Regions from separate parts of the Homo sapiens genome. Here all the other regions are linked to region 7. The links are contacts of gene promoters, found by promoter capture Hi-C in blood cells and fetal thymus (Javierre and others, 2016). All regions are on one chromosome and are shown on one strand. Each heading gives the region's core, a stretch centred on a gene start or on the middle of the fragment in contact. The rest is flanking DNA. Distances are from core to core; before and after follow the strand shown.

Region 1 (3,001 bases), core at 476-2,975, 2.4 Mb before region 7:
TTGGTTTTGGATTTTTTAAATAAGTTTGCATTAATTTTATGATCAATAAAGGCAACAAAAGTCCACTTTGACAGAAAGCCCATGTAAAGGAAAACTAATGATCCTTTTTAACTAAAACATTAATGCCCACTAGTGCTGAAAGTACTAAAATCAAGAATTAAATTTGTTCCCAGTAAATTATAATTTGAATTTAAGAGTATAATGTGATAATTGTTTCTTTTATAATTATCTACATAGTTTAGTTTTTTGTGTGTGTGAGACAGGGTCTCACTCTGTCACTCAGGCTGGCATGCAGTGGTGCCATCACAGCTCATTGCAGCCTTAACCTCCTGGGCTCAAGCAATCCTCCCACCTCAGCCTCCCAAGTAACTGGAACTACAAACACGCACCACCAAACTTGGCTAATTTTTTTTTTTTTTTAATTTTTTGTAGAGGCAGTCTATCCTGGCCTTGAACTCTGGGTTCAAGCAGTCCTCTCACTTTGGCCCCCCAAAGTGAGATTCATGCCTGGGATTATAGGCATGAACCACCACACCCAGCCAGGAACTTTTTTTTTTTTTTTTTGAGGTGGGGTCTCGATGTGTTGCCCAGACCAGTCTTGAATGCCTGGCCATAAGCAGTCCTCCCACCTTGGCCTCCCAAAGTGCTGGGATTACAGATGTGGGCCACCACTCCCAGCCGGGATTTTTTTAATTATCTAAAATAGTTTTGAATATATTTAGGGCCTTTTAGAATTTTAAGGTATCTCTATTTCTTGCAGGAGTAACTATTATAAATTATGATGACCTTCTACATTATAGGTATTGTCAATATGGACTCGCCATATGGTTCTGTAACACCTTCTTCAACACATTTGGGAAACTTTGCTTCAAACATTTCAGGAGGTCAGATGTACGGACCTGGGGCACCCCTTGGAGGAGCACCCGCAGCTGCTAACTTTAACAGACAACATTTTTCCCCGCTTAGTTTGTTGACTCCGTGTTCATCAGCATCAAATGGTGAGTTTTATACACCGTAATTCCATAAGAATCTGCATATGTTTTCTTAAAAACAGCAGGTTTCAAACCTCATCATAATTTTAATACCATAAAAAGGTAATTTGTACTCTTAGAAGTCTGGAATTTCAAAAAAATTTCTAGGTATTTAAATGATTAGAATCAACCTAGGTTCTATCAAACCTAAAATATTGAAGTTTTTCTAAGAGGGATTTTTATTATTTTTTATTTTTATTAGAGACAGGCTCTCACTGTGTTGCCCTCGCTGGTTTCGTCAAACTCCTGGGCTGAAGCAGTCTTCCTGCCTTCCAAAGAGCTGGGATTACAGGTGTGAGCCACCACACCTGTCCTGAGGGATCATTTTTTGGGGGAAAAAAATTAATCCTTGTACCTGTTATTAATTTATGTTTACTTTTAGTTTTGAGAATACAGGTACCAAGGAGAAAGATTTCTACCCTTGAGTGAAAATTACATCCTTTTAGTCCACCTTTAAATCTCATCTAGGCTGGGCACAGTGGCATACACCTGTAATCCTAGCACTTTGGTAGGCCAAGGCGGGTGGATCACCTGAGGTCAGGAGTTCAAGACCAGCTCGGCCAACATGGCAAAACCCTGCCTCTACTAAAAATACAAAAATTAGCCAGGCGTTGTGGTGTGCACCTGTGATCCCAGCTACTTGGGAGGCTGAGGCAGGAGAATTGCTTGAACCCAGGAGGCGGAGGTTGCAGTGAGCCGAGATCACACCACTGCACTCCAGCCTGGGCAACAGAGCAAGACTTCATCTCAAAAAAAAAAAAAAATCTCATCTGCATTAACAACACAACAGATTTCACATTATCACATGTGTTTTTTAACTACAGGCAGACTTTTGAAGCAGTGATTAGATTTTCTTTCTTTCTTTTTTTTATTTGAAATGGAGTCTCACTCTGTCACCCAGGCTGTAGTGCAATGGCTCAAGCGATTCTCCCACCTCAGCCTCCTGAATAAATGGGACTACAGGCATGTGCTACCACACCTGGCTAATTTTTGTATTTTTAGTAGAGACAGTTTCACTACATTGGCCAGGCTGGTCTCAAACTCCTGATCTCATGATCTGCCCACCTCGGCTTCCCAAACTGCTGGGATTACAGGTGTGAGCCACCAGGCCTAGATTTTCAAACTAATGAAGATCAGTCAGCAATAGAGAATTCAACTCAACTAAGAGAATTCTGTAGTAAGGTTGGATATGTTTGTTTTCCAGGTAAAGATGTGAAATTGCTTATCCCTTAAGGAAGTTATAGTAAGACTTCGGTTTTTTTTTTTTTGTTTTGTTTTTTTTTTTAACTATCAAATTTCTTCTAACTAGCAATACTGGAATAAATAACAGTTAACCTAATTAACTTAATGAAAGAGTAAAGAGTTATAATTATTTTAGAGATACATGTCAGAGTACATTGCCAGTTAAAGCATGAGGTAAATTGTAGCCTGCAATGAATTTATATATTCATAGTTTTTCTTGTGTTTGTCAAATAGTGGCAGTCATATAGAATATTAATTATCCTTGCACAGCTCCCAAAGTGCTGGAATTACAGGCGTGTACCACCACACCACCCAGGTTAGGTTTTTTAATACATGCTTTTGAATATAGTGCTATATTGTAAATACAGAGTATCATTGAGGGCATTACAATTGCTTTTATTGTTGCCACATTCCAGTAACTATTTTGTTACAAAAAATTTCAGACCCATAGAAAAGTTAAAGAATAGTTCAAGGAATATCCATATTTCCTTCGCCTAAATTTCCCAATTATTTTGTTATATTTATTTTCTCTCTCTACTGTTTTGCTGAACCATTTGTAAATAAGGTGCAGATATGACACTTCAGACCTAAAAACATGCATCACTTAAGAATAAGGATATTTTCTTATGCAACCATGATACCATTGTCAAATACCTAATAGGTTAACATGAATTCAGTAAGAATTAATCAGTCCATATTCAGATATCTTCAATTATTCCAAAACGTTT
Region 2 (2,801 bases), core at 207-2,706, 2.4 Mb after region 7:
GAGTTACATATTGTACAATGATGATAGGTTTTTCTAGTTTTTATTTTTCATCTGAATGGAGACTTTATTTGGGAAAGTGTTTTAATTGTTAAAACTGATATTTAGTTTGAGAATGACTTTGTTTACTTTTGTTTAGACTACTAAAATGTGACTTACATGTTTTGATTGGACTAGTCTGCAATTTTCTCATCATAGCATGAGTTGGCAGAGAATATCTACTTCCAGCAGTACATTTAAAGTTTGGTTTATAGGAATTAATTTGAGAATCAAAATGTAGGAATTTTAAAATAATTTGCTCACTAAAAAAATTAAGATGTTAAATAATGGGTTATTCTTTGTACTTATCTCTGTCAGAAACTCTTGCTTTACTCTTTGTTCTCCCAGCAGTTTTTGGTTTAATTTCTAATGTGTCTAATTTGTGTAGGCGTCGACCAGAAGATTATGATATTCATAACAGCAGAAAGAAACCAAGGATTGACTATCCCCCTGAGTTTCACCAGAGACCAGGTTAATATTTTATAATCCTGCAGATATTTGATTTCAAATTATTGGAAAAAAATTAAAAAATTAAAAACAACCCTCACAATCCTGCAGTTTTAAAAGTGAAAAAAATTCAGGACCTGACTACTTAAATCTTGAGAAATTTTAGTAGTTCTCATTAGTGTAATTCTTCCCTTAACTTCGTTAAGGTTGTCTAGTCTATTCCAGTGTAACTCATCATACCCTATGAATTACCTGAAATTGCTAATTTTGCAAAAATGGAAACTTATCTGCACATGTGTTTAAGGTTAAAAGTAGTTATGAAAAGCAATAACCTTATATTCTATCAGGCTTTTTGTTCCCTATGGTAGTTAGTGTTTCATGTGATACATATACATACAATGCTACTTTTTTTAAATAAAAATCTTTATGTCTTTGGAGAGGAATGGGAAATACTCGGTATGTAATCTAAATGTAGCTTTTCAATTAATCTATCCCTTACTGAAATTTAAGAGAGCAAACTATATTCAAGAAGGGATATCATGTATTTGAAGAGAGTCAGTGATACACTTGTGAAACTTAGGCAGTTAGGAGATTGATGTTAGTGATCATTATAGCACTATTATGTAACAAGTGGCTTGATTAGCCTCATTCTTCCAAAATAGGTTGTCCTGTTGTAGAAAGTGAAAATAGTTTTTCCCCAGTAACATGACTACTCAAATGTTTTTACATTTTAATTTGTTGGGTTCTTATTAAAAGAAGCAGGGGAAAGAATATTTTTCTAACCACCATCGATTTTTCATTTTCAGTGTATACATCTTCATTTTTGCAACTTTTGCAATTTTTTCCCCCTCCCCCTTAAGTTTACATTTTAAAAAGCTTATCTGTGGTTTTCTTGGTAAGACCTACATATACCCAAGGTGGAAAGTAAACATTTGTTTTAAGGAAGTCCTGTCATAGTGTGCTCAAGATAGTTCCTCTGCCCTTACCTTCCCTGTGAAGCAGAAGGAAGAAATTTTCTGATTAGCAAGATTTGGAGTGTGAACATAGAAGATACCTATCTGAAAGCTTCTCTAGCAGTTTACAATTCTATGATATCATTAGTTATTTCCTAGATTATCATGTAATCTGAGAAGAAAATTTGAAAATGGGATAATACAGTAGTAGCATCACTTAAAGTACATATTTCATGGAAAGAATTGAAACGAGTGGTAAGGAAGGTTTAATTATAATGCCATAAAAGAAAAATATAAATTTGATTTACTAAAATGCTTGATGTTTGAACAGGGTATTTAAAGGATCCACGATACCAGGAAGTGGACAGGTAAGTCGGGTTCACTCTTGCCTAGTTTTGAATTACATTCTTGGAACTAGTTTATGAATTACCTGAATTTAGTTTCACAAATCTTATTCCCAACAGACGATTTTCAGGAGTTCGCCGAGATGTGTTTTTAAATGGGGTAAGCATTTCATTTTATCTATTTAATGTGGATAAAATCAGGCTCTGATTTATTTTGCAGTTCTGTGATAATTTTTAATTATATTGACATTATCATCTTTTATTTTAGTCCTACAATGATTATGTGAGGGAATTTCATAACATGGGACCACCACCACCTTGGCAAGGAATGGTTTGTATTATTCTATTTTTATAAGTTACATAACTTAATTTGCAGTTCTAGTATTTCAGGTGCTTACTCGGAATATGATTGTTACAGTTACTCATTAAAGAGACTTAAACTGGCCAGGCGCCGTGGCTCACACCTGCAGTCCCAGCACTTTGGGAGGCTGAGGCGGCTAGATCACCTGAGGTGAAGAGTTCGAGACCAGCCTGGCCAACACGGTGAAACTGAAACCTTGTCTCTACTAAAAATACAAAAAACATTAGCTGGGTGTGGTGGCGTGTGCCTGTACTCCCAGCTACTCGGGGAGGCTGAGGCAGGAGAATTGCTTCAACCCAGGAGGCAGAGGTTACAGTGAGCCGAGATTGCGCCACTGCACTCCAGCCTGGGCAACAGAGGGAGACTCCATCTCAAAAAGACTTAAAATACAGATTTTTGATGATAAATAATTGTATGCTGTCTTTCAAACTAAAGACTAAAAGCTCATTTGTGTTAATAGTACAGGCTTGAGAACTGTAATAGTGTATTATGGTAGTAATTAGTAGTGCAAAGTCCGCTTGGGTTCAGATATATTTCTTTTTCTTCCCAACTCTGTGACTTTGGGTTAATTTCTTAATACAACTCTTAGTTTTCCTCATCTGTAAAATTCCATGGGCATTCACTGATGCTTTGTCTTATCAAATATAATATTTAGTACTT
Region 3 (3,031 bases), core at 172-2,671, 3.0 Mb after region 7:
ATTTTAAGATGCATCGTTTTCTGTATTTATTTTTTAAAAATTCATCCTCTATTCATGGATGTTAAAATATGAAGAAGCGTGGGTAATGGCAGGCCATTGTTTTGGCCTAGCCTTCTACACTAGGCCCCATCAGATCAAACCAGAATGGAGTTGCTTGTGCTAAGCACCATGTAATTAAAGTGGATTTTGAAAAAATGAGCCAGTTTTTTTTAAAAAAACAGGAGATTCTAGTTAACCTAGTGGGCATAATAAGGAAGTATGCTCTGTTTTAACCTTTACAAGGAAAGAAACTTTGAAATAATCTGATTTTTGTTCTGTTTCTGCTTTCTTCAATCTTTTTCATTATCTTCAGTCCTGTAGCATTATCTTAGTGCTAGAGCAGAGCCTTGAAAGAATAGAACACAGATCAAGAACATTTTAATGTGGAAAAGGTTCACAACTGGATTGAGGAACACGGATAATGCTATAGGTGAGCAACATAAAGCTTCCAGGTATTTTAAGATGTGCAATTTTGAAGAGAATAGAGGGCACGAAGGATAATACAGTTTTGCCTGGACCCTCATCTCCATATGAGAGGAAAAATTTCTAATTAAAAATATGATACATCACAGAAAATTACATAATACCCAAAGTATATGCTAATTTTAAAAATCCTGCAGATGTTTATTCAAATATACAGTGTTATTTAGTGAAAGACAAATCCTAATGTTATTGTGTCCAACTCATTTTTGCTTTCTAAGAAAGGTGACACGGAAGTAAATGAAAAAGAATTATATGAGAACTTTTTAGATATGTGTTCTGGTAATCTAACAGTGACTAGCTCTATAACCTTGACCAAGTCACTTGCACTGACCGGAAGTTCCTTTCCCTTACCCACAAATTTAAGGGACCAAACTGGATGATCTAACGACATCTATGGCACTAAAAGTCACATGATTCTATTAAATCTGAGGCAGCGCCTCACATGTAGTGGACTCCCAAAATTATTTATTAAATGTATAACATCTTTAAGTGGTATCCCCTCACTGACAATCTGGAGCTATTAGCAGCCTTCAGTTTATTTATAAAATAAAGCTGTTTCCTCTTCTTACCGTTAAGACTCTTTTAAGGATTTGCAACGCTATCCCATCATTTCGCGGGTTACTAGAGTCCTGCATGTTTGGCTGTAGAGCAAGGGTGACGCGTAACTTCTGGACTTTGGTTCCATCTACATCTGCCGGATGCGGATGCCAGTCGCAACAGTAACGCCCCCTTCGGCCACCTGCACCACAGCACGCCATGCGGCCACACCCAAACCGGAAACCAGGACGCCCCTAGGGTTGACGGGAAGGCGCTGCCGGGCTCCTAGCTTCCCCAGGCCCGCCCCCTCTGATGACGTCTCCGCCCGCCCCTTGACCCCCCCACGGTCCCGCCCCTTCCTACCTTCCAGTAGCCGGCGGCGGTGTCTCAGGCGGCAATGGAAGGATCCGAGCCTGTGGCCGCCCATCAGGGGGAAGAGGCGTCCTGTTCTTCCTGGGGGACTGGCAGGTGAGAGGACGAGAAGGGCGAAGGTGAGGGGTCGCGGGTGGGACCCAGGCTCCGGGTTTCTGCTTCTTTCTTTCCGGCGGGCTGGGGGCGCCCGAGAGGCCGCGGGGCCGAGCAGAGCCGGCCCTGGGAGGCGAGGGGCGCGCGCGGAGTGGGTGTGGCGACGTGGGCTAGGGCCTCTGCTGTTGCCGGCTTTCCTGAGGGAAAAGTCCCCTTTCCGCACCTTTGAGGGCTTTCTCAGTTCTGGCTGGGATTCGGGATCCTCCTTCCTCCAAGTCACCAGACTTGGGGGGCTCCGGTCGAGAGCGAGTTCTGGTCTCGGTCACTTGGCGTGAGCTTCCCCGACTGGTGCCAAGCACCTTTCCTCCTTTCCGTAAAAAGAAAGCTAGGAGCGCCACTGTGCACCTCCACTGAGATCCTCTTTTGAAAACTATTACCAGAAGGAACTTGGTAAGAATGAATCAGTAGCAATCTGGACACCCTGAGGCCTTTGTTGACTTCGGAAGAAGGAAAAAAAAAAAGCCAGGAAAAAAAAATACACAAGTTACCCATTCTTATTTCCCACTTGGTTTTGAAGTTCTTCAGGTCTTTCCCGCCCCTGTAAAATTAGGGGGAAAATATTTGTGCTAGGCCTTTACCAATTTCTTGGTTAGTAGTTCCTCTTTCAATCATCTCATAATTAATAAAGCAAGTGGTTACATTCTATCCACCACTGTCAGAATACACCATGCCAAAGATAGAATTGATGGATGTATTATTTTCAGCTGATGTGAGACTTTGTAAACCTGTAGCCTTTTCGCCAGTTTCAGACTGAAGGGATGCTTTCAGTTTCATGGTGTTGTCTGCCATTGCCAACACTGCCAGAGTGGAGGGATATTATGTAATATAACCCGCGCCTTATTTGAAGCGTTTTTGATTGTCTTATAGATCATATTATTTTTACATATTTTTGAAACATTCCAGTGAGGCACAACTTTCTGAAAAGGGCCAGTCACGCCATTAAGTGGCAGAGCTAGTTAGACTGCAGCTGTTCTCGTTTTTATTCAGATTTACCCACCAGGCCTATTGCCCCCGCCATGCAAGGAAAACAGCAAGTGAAAGTGTACTAGGGATAAAATGATAGGAAAGTAGATAATAAAAAACTTTGGCCGGGCGCAGTGGCTCAAACGCTTGCAATCCCAGCGCTTTGGGAGGTCGAAGCAGGCGGGTCGCTTGAGCTCAGGAGTTCTTAGACTAGCCTGGGCAACATGGCGAAACCGCGTCTCTACAAAATACAAAAAAATTAGCTGGGCGTAGGTGATGCACGCCTGTAGTCCCAGCTACTCGGGAGGCTAAGATGAGAGGATCGCTTGAGTCTAGAGAGATCGAGGCTGCAGTGAGCCGAGATCGTGCCACTGCACTCCAGTCTGGGTGACAGAGAGAGACCCTGTCTCAAAAAAAAAGAAAAGAAACAAATTTTGTTAATTTTTATATTTTGTTACAATGCCCAAACAGGGTATATTGTGTA
Region 4 (3,120 bases), core at 488-2,987, 2.4 Mb after region 7:
TTCTAAGGAAGAAGTGAACTCTGAAGAATATGGCTCTGACCATGAGACTGGCAGCAGTGGTTCTTCTGATGAGCAAGGGAACAACACTGAGAATGAGGAGGAAGGAGTGGAAGAAGATGTGGAGGAAGATGAAGAAGTAGAAGAAGATGCAGAAGAAGATGAAGAGGTGGATGAAGATGGAGAGGAGGAGGAGGAAGAGGAGGAGGAGGAAGAGGAGGAGGAGGAGGAGGAAGAAGAAGAATATGAACAGGATGAGAGAGACCAGAAAGAGGAGGGAAATGATTATGACACTCGAAGTGAGGCCAGTGACTCTGGTTCTGAATCTGTTTCCTTCACAGATGGGTCTGTCAGATCTGGTTCAGGCACAGATGGATCAGGTACTACTTTTTATATGTAAAAGTTTGTCTTAAAAAAAGCTTGATAGGTTTCAGTCTTGAAAATGTTTAAATTATAAAATTGTTGAGGAGATGGGGGATATTAATAGGATTGTCTTGTGATCCTTTATATGCTTTTGAATGTTATAAATACATTTGAATAATCTTGGATAAGATTTACATATTTTAGGAAAGGCATTTCCTAGCTACAGAATGGTTGTGTTGTAAATGAACACAAGTCCATTTGATTCTGTATAAGGAAATGTATTTCAGATTTCTGTAAATTCTTAGATTTTCATACCAGTCAGCAGTTTATTTAAACACTGATGTACTTGAAGTATATTCATAGGAAACCTGTCCACTGGGTATTACAGTATTTCCTTGGTAAAATACCCCTAGATTTCCATCATATGGCTTCAGAATCAAAACAGATTATTTCTTTTTTATCTCTGGGAGCACAGACTTTTCTTCTAATTTTGTGTCTGTCAGTTGACTGGCTGAGACAGGGTCGACAAGAGGGCTGGGGTGTAAGGTATAAGATGGAGATGAAGACTATAAATAAAATTCTTGTGGAAAAATCAGGTAAGAACCATCTTCAGTCATTTCTTCAATGCTATATATATCCTGCCTCTCTATACCTATGAGACAAAAATGTATGACTGTTACGTAGTTGGAGGCACTAGGCTTAGGGGAACTTTTCTTGGGGGAGGGTACAGCAAGGAGAGGTCAGGGTACTTACAGAGCACTATATGATGATTATAATCTCATGACTGTCTTATGTAAAGATGCTACCAGATTGCTACATAAGCAAAATGTACTAAACATAAGAAAATTCCTATTTTTTTGAAATACATTTACAGTTTATTATAGAATTTGATCATTTATAATAGTACATTGTTTTATATATATAGTATATATAGTATAGAAAAGTACTTCAGTTGCCAATCACTAGAAGATAACTGGCCATCTGCTCTACCTATACTATATACAGATAGTATATATCTATACTATATATTTTATACTATATATTTATACTATATGGATAGTATATATCTATACTACATACAGTATAGGTAGAGCAGATGGCCAGTTATTTTCTAGTGATTGGCAACTGAAGTGCTTTCAACCTTTTGTTCACTAGAATTCTAGGTTTGGGAGTTAAGATAGGCTTTTCAAGGGAGGTAGAGTTAAACAGAATAGATGAGTAGTTGGATTTGTTGTAAAAACATATGAAATCTTTATGCTTCCATCATGCCTTTTACAAACTGATAGGATATATTTTTTATAATTTAAGATAATAAATATTTCATTAGCAGTATGTGTTGAATGTTCATTTATTGTGGAGAATGTATGAAACCACTCCCTTGGGTAGGGAACGTTTTGTTGTAGGAATCTTCTTTTTGGTATCTCTGTTATTTCTTAGACTTTAATGTTTGTATTGTTTACATTAAACAAAGGGAACTTACTTAAATGGGTAGGACCAGAAATTGCATTTGTAACAGGCTCCTAGATGATACCATAGTAAGGTAACTTGATTGACACACTTTGTTTTTGTGGAGAAGACATTTCAAATTAAATGGTAACTGTAGTTTTATAATAAATCTTGATATCAAAACTCTGTTACTAGACTAGGTTTATTCTAAAAGAGATACCTGAAAGTTTTATTTTCCTTATAAAGGAAAATCCCTTATGTGGAACATGCTTTAGGTACTATATTAATATGCAGGAAATTTTTTTTTATACAATAGTTTATGAAAGAGTAATGGGGTGATTTTGGAACTTCTTGATTAAGAGACGTCAGTTTTTAAATAAAAGTGATCACAGTTGAGTTTCTCTGTCATGAATTTTCTAGATTCCAGTTCATTTTACCTTATTCTCAGAATTTTTGGTAACTTTATAAAAGCAACAGACTGATTGATAACAGTTTATTTATTAGATGATTTTCATTGTTCTTTTGACCTGAGAGTAATAGTTGGGGGAGAGGGCCATAAACTTAAGAGCATTGGGAGTTATTCATACAAAAATGATGAAAATTCCTTGGAGATTTCTCATGCTAATGCTAGGTTTAGCATTATATAAAAACAATTGAGTAGGATCTTCTGCTTCTGTTATTTTCCCTGCATTATCTCAGATCTTTTTAGTAACTTTTTAATTATTGTTTTTGTCTTTATATAAAGAGGGTCTTGCTATGTTGCCCAGGCTGGTCTCGAACTCCTGAGGTCAAGTGATCCGCCTGCCTCGACCTCCCAAAGTGCTGGGATTACAGGCACGAGCAACTGCACCAGGCCCTTTTTAGTACTTTGGACCATGAAATAATTCTTTTTTAACAGCAACAAGAGATAAATTACACTCAGTCAGATGCATTCATAATGCTTAGACTACTGAAAGAAATATCCATGGGGGAAAAATTAGAAGAAACATGTCAGAACTTTTGAAAGAAATAATGAAAAAAGCCCCCAAAACTAGTTAAACCTGTAATCACCTTTCAAAAATAGTATAAAACATCCTTTCTACTTGCTCAAGCCAGAGGACCTGCCCTTGAGTCTAGGTTCTGCCATCCAGGAACTGTGGGACCCTAGTCTAGTTGCCTAACTGCCTGTCTAATTCAAGGTTTCTTCATCTGTAATGAGAATATCTTGTGAACTTGTTATGAGAATTAAAGGAGATAAGTAGTTAAAGCTTTTTAAATAGCTGTCATTATATAGTAGGTTATTGTATACATGATCACTGATTATTATTTTTCAGC
Region 5 (3,032 bases), core at 79-2,578, 2.6 Mb before region 7:
ATTTAGTCATTGCCAATTCTGCCTTGGTACTCTGTAGAGTACTGGCAACTGCCCACATTTCATATGGTATGCCAATGCTAAAAAGAAAAAAAATGCTAAAAAAAAAAAAAATCCAGGCATATTCAGCTAAACTAAGCAGTCTTAAAATGGCAACTATGTCAGCTGAGACATACTTTTAATCTTGTGCCAGTACATCTGTCTTTGATGTTTGCTTCATTTTCCGTATGCCACTATACTCCTACTAGACCAGAAAGGGATAATTCTGAGTTCAATGGGCTCCACTATCATTTCAAAAGTCCTGAAACTTCTTCAGACACCTAAAAATGAACCCACAACTCCCATAACAGCATTCCTTCCGAGAGAAGTATACAGACAACAATCACTATTTATGCTTGCTTCCAAGCTGAATCGAAGAGGGCCGGAAGAGCTAAATCAGGGTCATTCAGTGAATCGTCTACAAAGTCTGGCACAGACCACGCATCCTTCCCGTGTCTTCCTCCCCTTGGAAACTTGAGGTGTAAGTAATGATCTTAGACATCTCCTAATCGACTGCCTTCATATTACACACGTGTAAACTCAGGTAGAGGATGTCTATGAGCCGAGCTTAAACTCAGGTAAAGAAGGCTCTTTTCCCAACACGACGCCATCTCTCATGATCCAAAGCTCTATCTCTCGATTTGGCGGTGGAAAAAAATGACCAGGAATAAAACTACGTACAGCAGTCCAGAACGAGGCCCCACCTCCCGGATCTGGCGGACCGGCCTCCCGTCAGCAAAGTGTCTGGACCGCGCTTCCGCACCTCACACTGCCCGGGGCCGGCTCCTCTCCAGCCTCCCCGTACTCCCCACACGCCGCAGCACTGCGCGCCCGCGGGGCCCCAGACCCGGCCCTTGAAATCTCACTTTCGCCTTTCGGCCACCCGCGCGCCACGGCTCAGGCGACGGCTGATGGCGTCACTGCACTTCCGCCTGCGGCTGCGTTCTAATCACAAGCCAGGAAGGAAGAAGGGAGGGCTGCAGGGCTGTGTGTGCGGGAAATAGCGAGGAAAGAGAAGAAATCCGGGAGCTCGCGGGCGCTCTGGTTGCAATCGCGCCCCCCTCATCTGTCCCCGCCGTTCCCCTTCGGAAGCTGCCCCAGGCACACTTCCCCGCTTCTTTCCAGTCTCCTCTCCTCTGGTTCTCCCGACACCCGGTCTCCCTGTTACGCCTCACCCTCCTTCCCTTGCTCCCTCCCTCTCCCTCCCTCCCTCCCTCCCATCGTCAGGCTCCCCGCCCTTAGTATCGCGAGACGAGGTGAGAGCTGGCGGAGCGGCGGCGGCGGCGGCGGCAGTAGAGGTGACCGAGGCGGTGGCGGCGGAGGCGGCACCGATTGCTGTGTCGGCCCCAGTGCGGCCGAAGTCGCGGTAGAGCGTAGCCCCACGCCCCTCCCCCGTCCGCGCCCTCCCTCTTTCCCTGGGGATGGAGAAGGCGACGGTTCCGGTGGCGGCGGCGACGGCTGCAGAAGGAGAAGGGAGCCCCCCGGCGGTGGCGGCTGTGGCGGGCCCCCCCGCGGCGGCGGAGGTCGGCGGCGGCGTTGGCGGCAGCAGCAGAGCTCGCTCGGCCTCGTCTCCTCGTGGGATGGTGCGAGTCTGCGACCTGCTCCTGAAGAAGAAGCCGCCGCAGCAGCAGCACCACAAGGCCAAGCGTAACCGGACTTGCCGACCCCCCAGCAGCAGCGAAAGCAGCAGCGACAGCGACAACAGCGGCGGCGGTGGAGGCGGCGGTGGAGGCGGAGGTGGCGGCGGCGGCACCAGCAGTAACAACAGCGAGGAAGAAGAGGACGACGACGACGAGGAAGAGGAGGTTTCTGAGGCAAGGGCCTGGTTTCAAAGGAAGGAGGGAGGAAGGGACTGTAAGGGATAGGGGCCGAAGGTGGGAGGGGATTTGGAGTGGGACAGATTCCAGTGGGTTGATCTCTTAGGGGCCAGGCTTTCGACTGCCCCCTTTCTTCCCTCGGCCTAAATCGTGAGGTGTGGGAATGTGGGGGAGGGTAGCTGACACGTGGGGGTGGGAGGACCACGGAGTTCACAGAGTTGGTGAACAGCCTGTTATCATGGGATGGCTCACTTGGTTAAGGATGGAGGGAATTGGTTAGATTCCCTGTTTGCACGCCGGGGGGTGGGGGGGTGGTCTGCCTGGGGCCAGTAGGGCCACCTTAGTCTGAGGCGGGATCGGGATCAAAGCGGGAGGAGTAAAATAATGGGTAAATGAGTCTCTTGGGGACCAACTAGGAGGTTGATCAACTTCTCCCAGTTGTGAGGTGGAGGGGAGCAGTTTGAGGGGGGACGTAAGGTTGTAATGGACTCAGAGCTAAGTGTTTGTGTATGTGAGGGACACGTGAGAAGCTGTACTTTTCCATACTGTTCTGCAGGGTTTTTCGTAACTATCCTGGCTGCTGAAGTAACTTCATTTCCTCGATCTCCCAGGGATTTTCGATGAACTGATGCTGTATTTGTATAAATTTATCAGTAACTTTAAATAATTACAAATGACCATATACATTTGTAAGTGGATGAAAAATATATTTGATCCTTACACGTACATACATACATGCCTTCGAATGTTTCCTTAGTGAGTTAGAATTAAGCTAGGACCTGTTGTCCCGTAATATGGGACAGCCAAAGGGTAGGCTTTGGAGCCAGGCCTGGTTGTGGTGAGTTGGAATAGGAAGGCCTCTCGGTTTGTCCTAGTGATCTGGTTTCATAATAACTTTATAATTTTTCCTGGGTCCACAGACAGGCGGCGTTGCAGGACCTTATTCCTCACAGAAGCCCTTACAACCCAAAGGCTCAGTAAAACATACCATACTGACAACCAACTGAGAGTTAGCTTTACTAGTTATTAGCTGTTTTACCACTCTCTTGTCTCCTTCCTGAAATAGAATCTAGAAAAATCTTTATTTGGAGAGGGAAATCTTTATCAGCAGAGGGAAAACAGCTTTAAAGGCTGATTTTAAACTTAGTTCTAAGAGGAGACCAAGTGATTCATCTAAAA
Region 6 (3,228 bases), core at 354-2,853, 2.5 Mb before region 7:
GATTAACTCATTAGAAGGTGGGGTCTGCAAAGCAGCTTTGAGTAAGGTTTAGTATCATATGTCTTAGAATTCATTTACATATCTAAGCCTAAAGCTTTGCTGCAGTTAACTATTAAAAACGGTTATTTTAGCTTTAAACTAAGCATGTTTATATCAATCTGATTGCTTAATTTAGCTGGTATACTCTGGTCCTAGATTTTTCATGTGACTTTGATTATTATAAAACAAATTATTAAATTAAAAATATTAAAACCCTGAAATTTAGGGCACTGATGCTAGAGAGACATCAATACAAAATTACTATAATTTGAATCATGAACATTTTAAATTATATTTTCTCTTTTCTGGTTGTAAAAATTTTATAAGATCCTATTTGAGTATAAATCAGTCCAAGGAAATACATGTCAAAGTGAAACTATAATTGCTTTTGGCATTGAATGTAGTATACTATTAGAAATTTGTATTTATAGGTATAGGTATTTAAATCTCATATTCTTATCTGTGGGATTGTGTAGGGTTTTTCTTTTTTTTCCTCATTAGATAAAACCTGGGTAATTCAGATAAAGAGGCTTTATGGTGGTGAGTGGTATTCCTAATACTTAGACTGTTGAGATAATTTATTAACTATTTCACATCTTCAGGAAGATTATTTTACTGTGGGGAGAGGGCTTGGGAGAAGAAGCTGCAAAGGGAAGCTAGGCGGGGTTAGCAGGAGAAAAAAGCCTATGCGCATTATAAAGTGCTGCATGATCAATGAGTATTTTCTGGAGTCCCTCAGTGTGTGCTTGGAGCTGACATTGCAGCAAGTCTCATGGTTGTTCTGCAGAATGAAAACTGATTCCATTTATTACCTACCTCCTTGCAGACACCTGCCAATGTGCTCTTTTCCCCTTTCCTAAAAGCTGTTAGGTCTAAGTTGAATTGTGGTTAATTTTTATTCTTTTCTCTTTTATTTTTTACTTTGTTTCTATTAGTGAGTTTCCTTAAAAATGTGTGGTAAAATTATCTACTTAGAAATAGTAGTATAAACTTTCATCAAAGGAGTTTAGTAATTACAAGTGGCCACATGACTTTTTAGTGGTTCAGTTTAAATAAGCCTAATTAGATTACAGAGTTCTAGTGTTACATTTTAATTTGCTTTTAAAATTTTTTGGTTTGGATTTTAAAGAAGTGTGCTTTGGAGATTTTGATAAATCTATTTGACAATTTTTCTTAGCCATTTAAAACTTCAGCATATAACAGATTTTAGAAGTCTTATTTATGTTCTGAGGAAATCCTACTTGAGCACTGTTTTGTGCTTTATGCATAGGTTTTTTTAATGCTACCTGAACAACTGGCTTTTTATTATCTCAATTGTTTAATACCATGTTAAGATTTCATGTTACCTTATTTATTCAATGTTGCTAGTTATTAAAACAACCTCTGCAATTTTAGTTTTCCTAATTCTCAATTTATCTTAATTTAGTTTCTATGTACCTGTTGCATCCTATCATACTAAATAAGTAGCTTTTTCTCTTTATTTAAAATATCATTTGACTTAAATATTTGTCAATCTTGGTAACATTTTCTAAGTAGTAATAAAAGAGCCTTATCCAAAGTTATAAGTACTCATAATGACACAGTGCTAAAAATACAGAGTGCAAAGAATAAATTTGCTAACTTTGCAGATAAATGTACCATTTTCTAAAGCACCTCATATTGCAAGTAAACAGATATTTATTACATAATGAGCTTTCCAGAAAAATATATTCCCTAGCCCTCTACCCCCCACAGGGATAACTCCTTGAATAAATGTCCAGTAATGGATAATGAAGTTCATCTGTATACCACAGTGACAGTTTTATTATTGTACTTAATATTGAGCTACTTGAAGTTCATTACCGTAATTTTCACCTTTGTGATTTTATTTATTGAACATACGGAATTTTATGTAGATTATGCTTATTTGCATTGAATAAATATTAGACTCTTTTTTTCCTGTCTTTGTAACTTGATCTTTTGAATCATAAACTTCTTAAAGGTACTCTTATTGAATATTAGTTAACAAAAGTCAATATCATTAGTGAACATAACACAAATGATTTCTCATAATACTATGGCTTACCTTTTAAACTGTGATTACTGATTATATATGCCCACATATATTTAAGTTGACTATTTAGACCTTTAAAATCTTAAGTAAAATACTCTCTAAAATGTATAATAAAATTAGAAAAGGTGGATTTCAACTTACATCATTGCTTTTCAACAGTCCAAGGTAAGGGATTAAATAGAGTGTCTTGGCTATTTCATTTATTCAAATAATCCAGGCAGTAATTTTCTTCTCCAAACCAAAGGCATCAAAGTATTTCCGTTCCTTCTGCCTACCTTCTGTAAAAGGAACTAATACTCAGGAAAGTAGCCATATACAGATGGCAGAAAAAGGGCTGACAGCTCATATAAATACCTCTTTTCTTGTTCTGTTTATGTTTTCCTGAGACATGATTATAATTTTAGAATTTTGATGACCTTCCTGTAAAATTATGTGTAACAATAGATTGTACTACTTAGAATGATCAATAAGAGGAAAAATGTCTTCCAATTTTATATCCCAAATTTACATGGCCAAGGGCTGTGTATATAAACCTGTGGTTTATATGTTGGCTTTTTTATATGAAAACATGAAACAACTGAGAGATCATTTCAGAAACTTGGTTACTGTATATTTAGTGTTATTATTTATAATTGAGCCAGTTTTAGGAGTCTTAGTAATAAGAAATCTTCACAGATATTTCCATCCTTTAATTTTGATTAAGTTCAGATTGTTCTGGGTATAGTATTTGATATATTTTTGCTTTAAGAAAGTAGGAAATTTTATGAAAATAAAAATGTTTATATTGTTAAGTGTAATAATAACTCTCATACCCGTTCTTATTCTTTTGTCATCTAAAGCCAGGATGTCCAGCTTCATCTGTACTTGATGTTATAGGTTGTGGTATATAAAATAAAAGTGCCAACTCTCTATGGTTCTGTCTATGGACAGTGGGTTGAGGATTTGACTGAACCCTTTAGGTTGGAACTGAATTAAGGTTCAGATTTAAGCAAAGTAAGTAGGTTTATTATGGAAGCTTTTCTTGCTCTGTATTTATCTTAGCTGTTTTTGTTTTTTAAATAAAATTGAAAGAGTCTCAAGGAAGGCATCATTTCCTTTTGATTGCCAAGATTGTGGACTAATGGTAAATAGTGAAT
Region 7 (2,798 bases), core at 51-2,550:
CTGTCTTCTATTTCTTTATAGTACTTCAGTTTTGCTTTTTCATCAAAATCAGAATCATCAGAAAGATCTGTAACAGCACAGGCAGCAGCAGAAGTCTTTGAAACAGACTTTGGTTTGGGCTTGGTGGATTTTGCTTTTGGAATCAGTTCTTTCTTTACAGCATCATCCTTAAGTGTCAACAGATGACGAATTTCTGAGGACAGCTTCTGATCCACAACGGACAGCTTGTTGATCAAATTTCGGTAGGTAACAAGCCTTTCTATGACAGGATGTCCATGTGCTGGGACTCTCCTAGCTTTCAGGATCAAATAAAAACTGATGTTCGAGCAATAATTCAAGTAGAGGTTGTACTTGGTCCTCAAGTATTGGCTTCCTTTTCCGGGTGGAATGATCCCTTGTTCCACCAACTCTAACAATGGCTCCAGCTCATCCTTAACCTCTGTCAACTTGACTTTCAGGTCTTCTATCAGCTCCAAGAGTTCTGGTGATTCCTTTCGCAACATTTTCAGCTTCTCTTTCACTGAAACTTTAGCCAAATCCTTCACGACCCGTGTCTCAGCCTCATCTACCTGAGGCACTGGTTTTGCAAAGGCCTCAACCCAGGCGACACCAAAATCATCCTCTTGCAGCGCTTGGGCTAGGCGCCGCTGAATGATCTGTGCCTCCTCCTCCTCCTCTCTTTCCTCCTCCTCTGCCTCCTGTTGACTCTGCCGGCCTCGGGACTTGGAACCATAGTCCGTGTCATAGTAAAGTTTTTTCCTCTGACCCCACGACAAACTGGGATCCACAGAGGCCTCAGCTTCACTTTGCACGGAGCTCCCACCATCATCATCGGCATTCTCCTCCTCCTCCTCCTCCCCCGCATTCCCTCCATCTTCGTCGTCCTCATCGTCCATATCTAGGGCTAGCACCTCCTCCTCCTCCTCCTCGCCATCCTCCTCGTCTCCACTCTGTACTTCATTCCAGCCCTTAGCTAAGGCGGCCCGGGATCGTGCCTCATGAAAGTCATCTACCTGATCTTGGTAGTAGCTGGTGTCCCCTGGTGAGGGTGGCAATCCTAAATCATCTCCATTTTCGTCGGTGAGCGTGGGACCTGCCTTGGCTCGCACAGCTGCCCACTTAGCTGCTCCGCGCCGCCGGGATCTCCCCACCATGGCTCACAATCTCAGGTTTTACAGCGACTCCGGACTTTCGGCCACCACTGACTTCGGCGCAGGAATCAGGCGCTCCGGTAACTCGTGGCTCTAAACAGCAGCGCGCTCCCCTACCACCGGAGTTTGCAGACTCCTGATCGGCTACTGGAATTTCCTCTTCCTTCCGGCCCCCAGCATGCTCTCCGCGTGGCGTACGATTGAGGACTTCCGCTCGGTCCCTTAGTCGAGATCACGTTGATACCAACTTCCTTTTCACTGTGCCCTTTAACGCCAGTCGATTCCGGTGAATTAAAATCTTTCCGTGTGGAAACGATAGGATAAGGAAGTTCCGTTCCACAGAACGCTTTCTCGGGCTAATGCGCTTACTCTCGAGTGCCTGGGAGTGGCTGGGGGACGGAATCCTGACGGCACCTCCAGGCGAGGTCCCGATGGCCAATAGAGGGCGCTGCGCTTTACGCCCCGGAGAAGTCCCGGGGGCGTTCCATTGAGGTTTAACTGCGTGTGTACCCGGCGCTTGCGACCGGCAGTCTAGTGCTAGCGTAGTTTTCCTGCTCCCTTGTTTTCTCTTTTCTGCTTATCAGGCTGGAAGTTAATCAGATTGCTTTCCTCTCATTTCACCCCCACCCCCAATACCATATTTCTGGGTACCACAGCCTCAGGCAGCGCCGCTGGACTCCAGAATCCCACGGGAGGTTTCCGGGCGAGAGCGCAGGCCGGGCCTCCGGCTCGGGTTTACTCATCCCCATCGCCCTCTCCCTGCTCACAGGGCTCGGTGACCCGCTCCATGGGGATCGATAAAGCTAGATGACCCCGAGGCTGACAGTGGGAAGGCAGAGCCCCGCTGCAGGGTCTGACTCTTCTCAAGGAAGTCTGCCCTGTAATGTTAGAGTAATTCAGGGTGTAAGTTTTTAGGCATTACATATGTAAGGTTCAGGGTTAGTATTATTATACCTTTTAATGTAGGTAGTTGGAAGCTGAACTTTTGATACGTTGCTAAAATTAATGGTGACATGGCTGGGCGCGGTGGCTCATGCCCATAATCCTAAGCACTTTGGGAGGCCGAAGTGGGTGGATCACTTGAGGTCAGGAGTGCAAAACCAGCCTGGCCAACATGGGGAAACCCAGTCTCTACTACAAATACAAAAAATTAGCGGGGCGTGGTGGCGGGTACCTGTAATCCCAGCTACTCGGGAGGTTGAGGCAGGAGAATCACTTGAACCCGGGAGGCGGAGGTGGCAGTAAGCCGATATCGCACCACTGCACTCTAGCCTGGGCGACAGACAGAGACTCTGTCTCAAAATAAATAAATAAATAAATAAAATAAAATTAATGGTGACAATTTCTTTTTCTTTTGTTTTTTGTTTCTTTTTTCTTTTTCTTTTTTTCTTTTTTTTTTTTTGAGACGGAGGCTCGCTCTGTTGCCAGGCTGGAGTGCAGTGGCAATCTCGGCCCACTGCAACCTCCGACCCCCTGGTTCAAGTGATTCTCCTCCCTCAGCCTCCCGAGTAGCTGGCATTACAGGCACGCGCCACCACTCCCAGCTAATTTTTGTATTTTTAGTAGAGACGGGGTTTCATCATGTTGGCCAGGATGGTCTCCATCTCCTGACCTCGTGATACGCCCGCCTCGGCCTCCCAAAGTGCT

Evidence for each region. Contacts are between HindIII fragments. The CHiCAGO score rates a contact against its expected background, and 5 or more counts as called.
Region 1: a fragment that was not itself captured here is called in contact with the fragment with the promoter of UTP3 in region 7 in 1 of 17 cell types (total CD4 T cells); the score reaches 6.3 in total CD4 T cells.
Region 2: a fragment that was not itself captured here is called in contact with the fragment with the promoter of UTP3 in region 7 in 2 of 17 cell types (activated CD4 T cells and total B cells); the score reaches 7.9 in activated CD4 T cells.
Region 3: the fragment with the promoter of UBA6 here is called in contact with the fragment with the promoter of UTP3 in region 7 in 4 of 17 cell types (non-activated CD4 T cells, total CD4 T cells, activated CD4 T cells and 1 more); the score reaches 15.6 in non-activated CD4 T cells.
Region 4: a fragment that was not itself captured here is called in contact with the fragment with the promoter of UTP3 in region 7 in 1 of 17 cell types (non-activated CD4 T cells); the score reaches 7.1 in non-activated CD4 T cells.
Region 5: the fragment with the promoter of ANKRD17 here is called in contact with the fragment with the promoter of UTP3 in region 7 in 3 of 17 cell types (non-activated CD4 T cells, naive CD8 T cells and total CD4 T cells); the score reaches 7.8 in non-activated CD4 T cells.
Region 6: a contact is called between a fragment that was not itself captured here and the fragment with the promoter of UTP3 in region 7, in 6 of 17 cell types (total CD4 T cells, naive CD4 T cells, naive CD8 T cells and 3 more). The highest score is 9.6, in total CD4 T cells.

What each region holds. Positions count from the first base shown.
Region 1 is chr4:73,083,246-73,086,246 of GRCh38, reverse strand. ANKRD17 (ankyrin repeat domain 17) reads left to right here. Exons shown (of 34, transcript NM_032217.5): 30 at 801-998. Among named protein-coding and RNA genes, the nearest start is that of COX18, 15 kb to the right of the region's middle. The HindIII fragment of the contact is 7,936 bases long and covers 1-3,001 here.
Region 2 is chr4:68,317,829-68,320,629 of GRCh38, reverse strand. It overlaps YTHDC1 (YTH N6-methyladenosine RNA binding protein C1), which reads left to right. Exons shown (of 17, transcript NM_001031732.4): 12 at 425-507; 13 at 1,768-1,804; 14 at 1,901-1,940; 15 at 2,049-2,111. Among named protein-coding and RNA genes, the nearest start is that of YTHDC1, 31 kb to the left of the region's middle. The HindIII fragment of the contact is 189 bases long and covers 1,362-1,550 here.
Region 3 is chr4:67,699,545-67,702,575 of GRCh38, reverse strand. It overlaps UBA6 (ubiquitin like modifier activating enzyme 6), which reads left to right and starts at 1,421. Exons shown (of 33, transcript NM_018227.6): 1 at 1,421-1,527. The coding sequence starts at 1,457. UBA6-DT (UBA6 divergent transcript) reads right to left here and starts at 1,298. Exons shown (of 2, transcript NR_015439.1): 1 at 1,092-1,298. RefSeq lists silencers at 1,328-1,397, 1,528-1,697. The HindIII fragment of the contact is 4,018 bases long and covers 487-3,031 here.
Region 4 is chr4:68,334,284-68,337,403 of GRCh38, reverse strand. It overlaps YTHDC1 (YTH N6-methyladenosine RNA binding protein C1), which reads left to right. Exons shown (of 17, transcript NM_001031732.4): 4 at 1-377. Among named protein-coding and RNA genes, the nearest start is that of YTHDC1, 14 kb to the left of the region's middle. The HindIII fragment of the contact is 2,637 bases long and covers 419-3,055 here.
Region 5 is chr4:73,257,094-73,260,125 of GRCh38, reverse strand. It overlaps ANKRD17 (ankyrin repeat domain 17), which reads left to right and starts at 1,328. Exons shown (of 34, transcript NM_032217.5): 1 at 1,328-1,850. The coding sequence starts at 1,458. ANKRD17-DT (ANKRD17 divergent transcript) reads right to left here and starts at 960. Exons shown (of 5, transcript NR_187399.1): 1 at 718-960. RefSeq lists enhancers at 807-1,076, 679-1,275 and a silencer at 1,237-1,636. The HindIII fragment of the contact is 8,436 bases long and covers 1-3,032 here.
Region 6 is chr4:73,219,446-73,222,673 of GRCh38, reverse strand. All of the region lies in intron 1 of ANKRD17 (ankyrin repeat domain 17), which reads left to right. Among named protein-coding and RNA genes, the nearest start is that of ANKRD17, 38 kb to the left of the region's middle. The HindIII fragment of the contact is 3,013 bases long and covers 97-3,109 here.
Region 7 is chr4:70,687,034-70,689,831 of GRCh38, reverse strand. UTP3 (UTP3 small subunit processome component) reads right to left here and starts at 1,300. Exons shown (of 1, transcript NM_020368.3): 1 at 1-1,300. The coding sequence starts at 1,154. RefSeq lists enhancers at 1,175-1,234, 436-1,404, 1,935-2,024, 1,405-2,375. The HindIII fragment of the contact is 6,672 bases long and covers 1-2,798 here.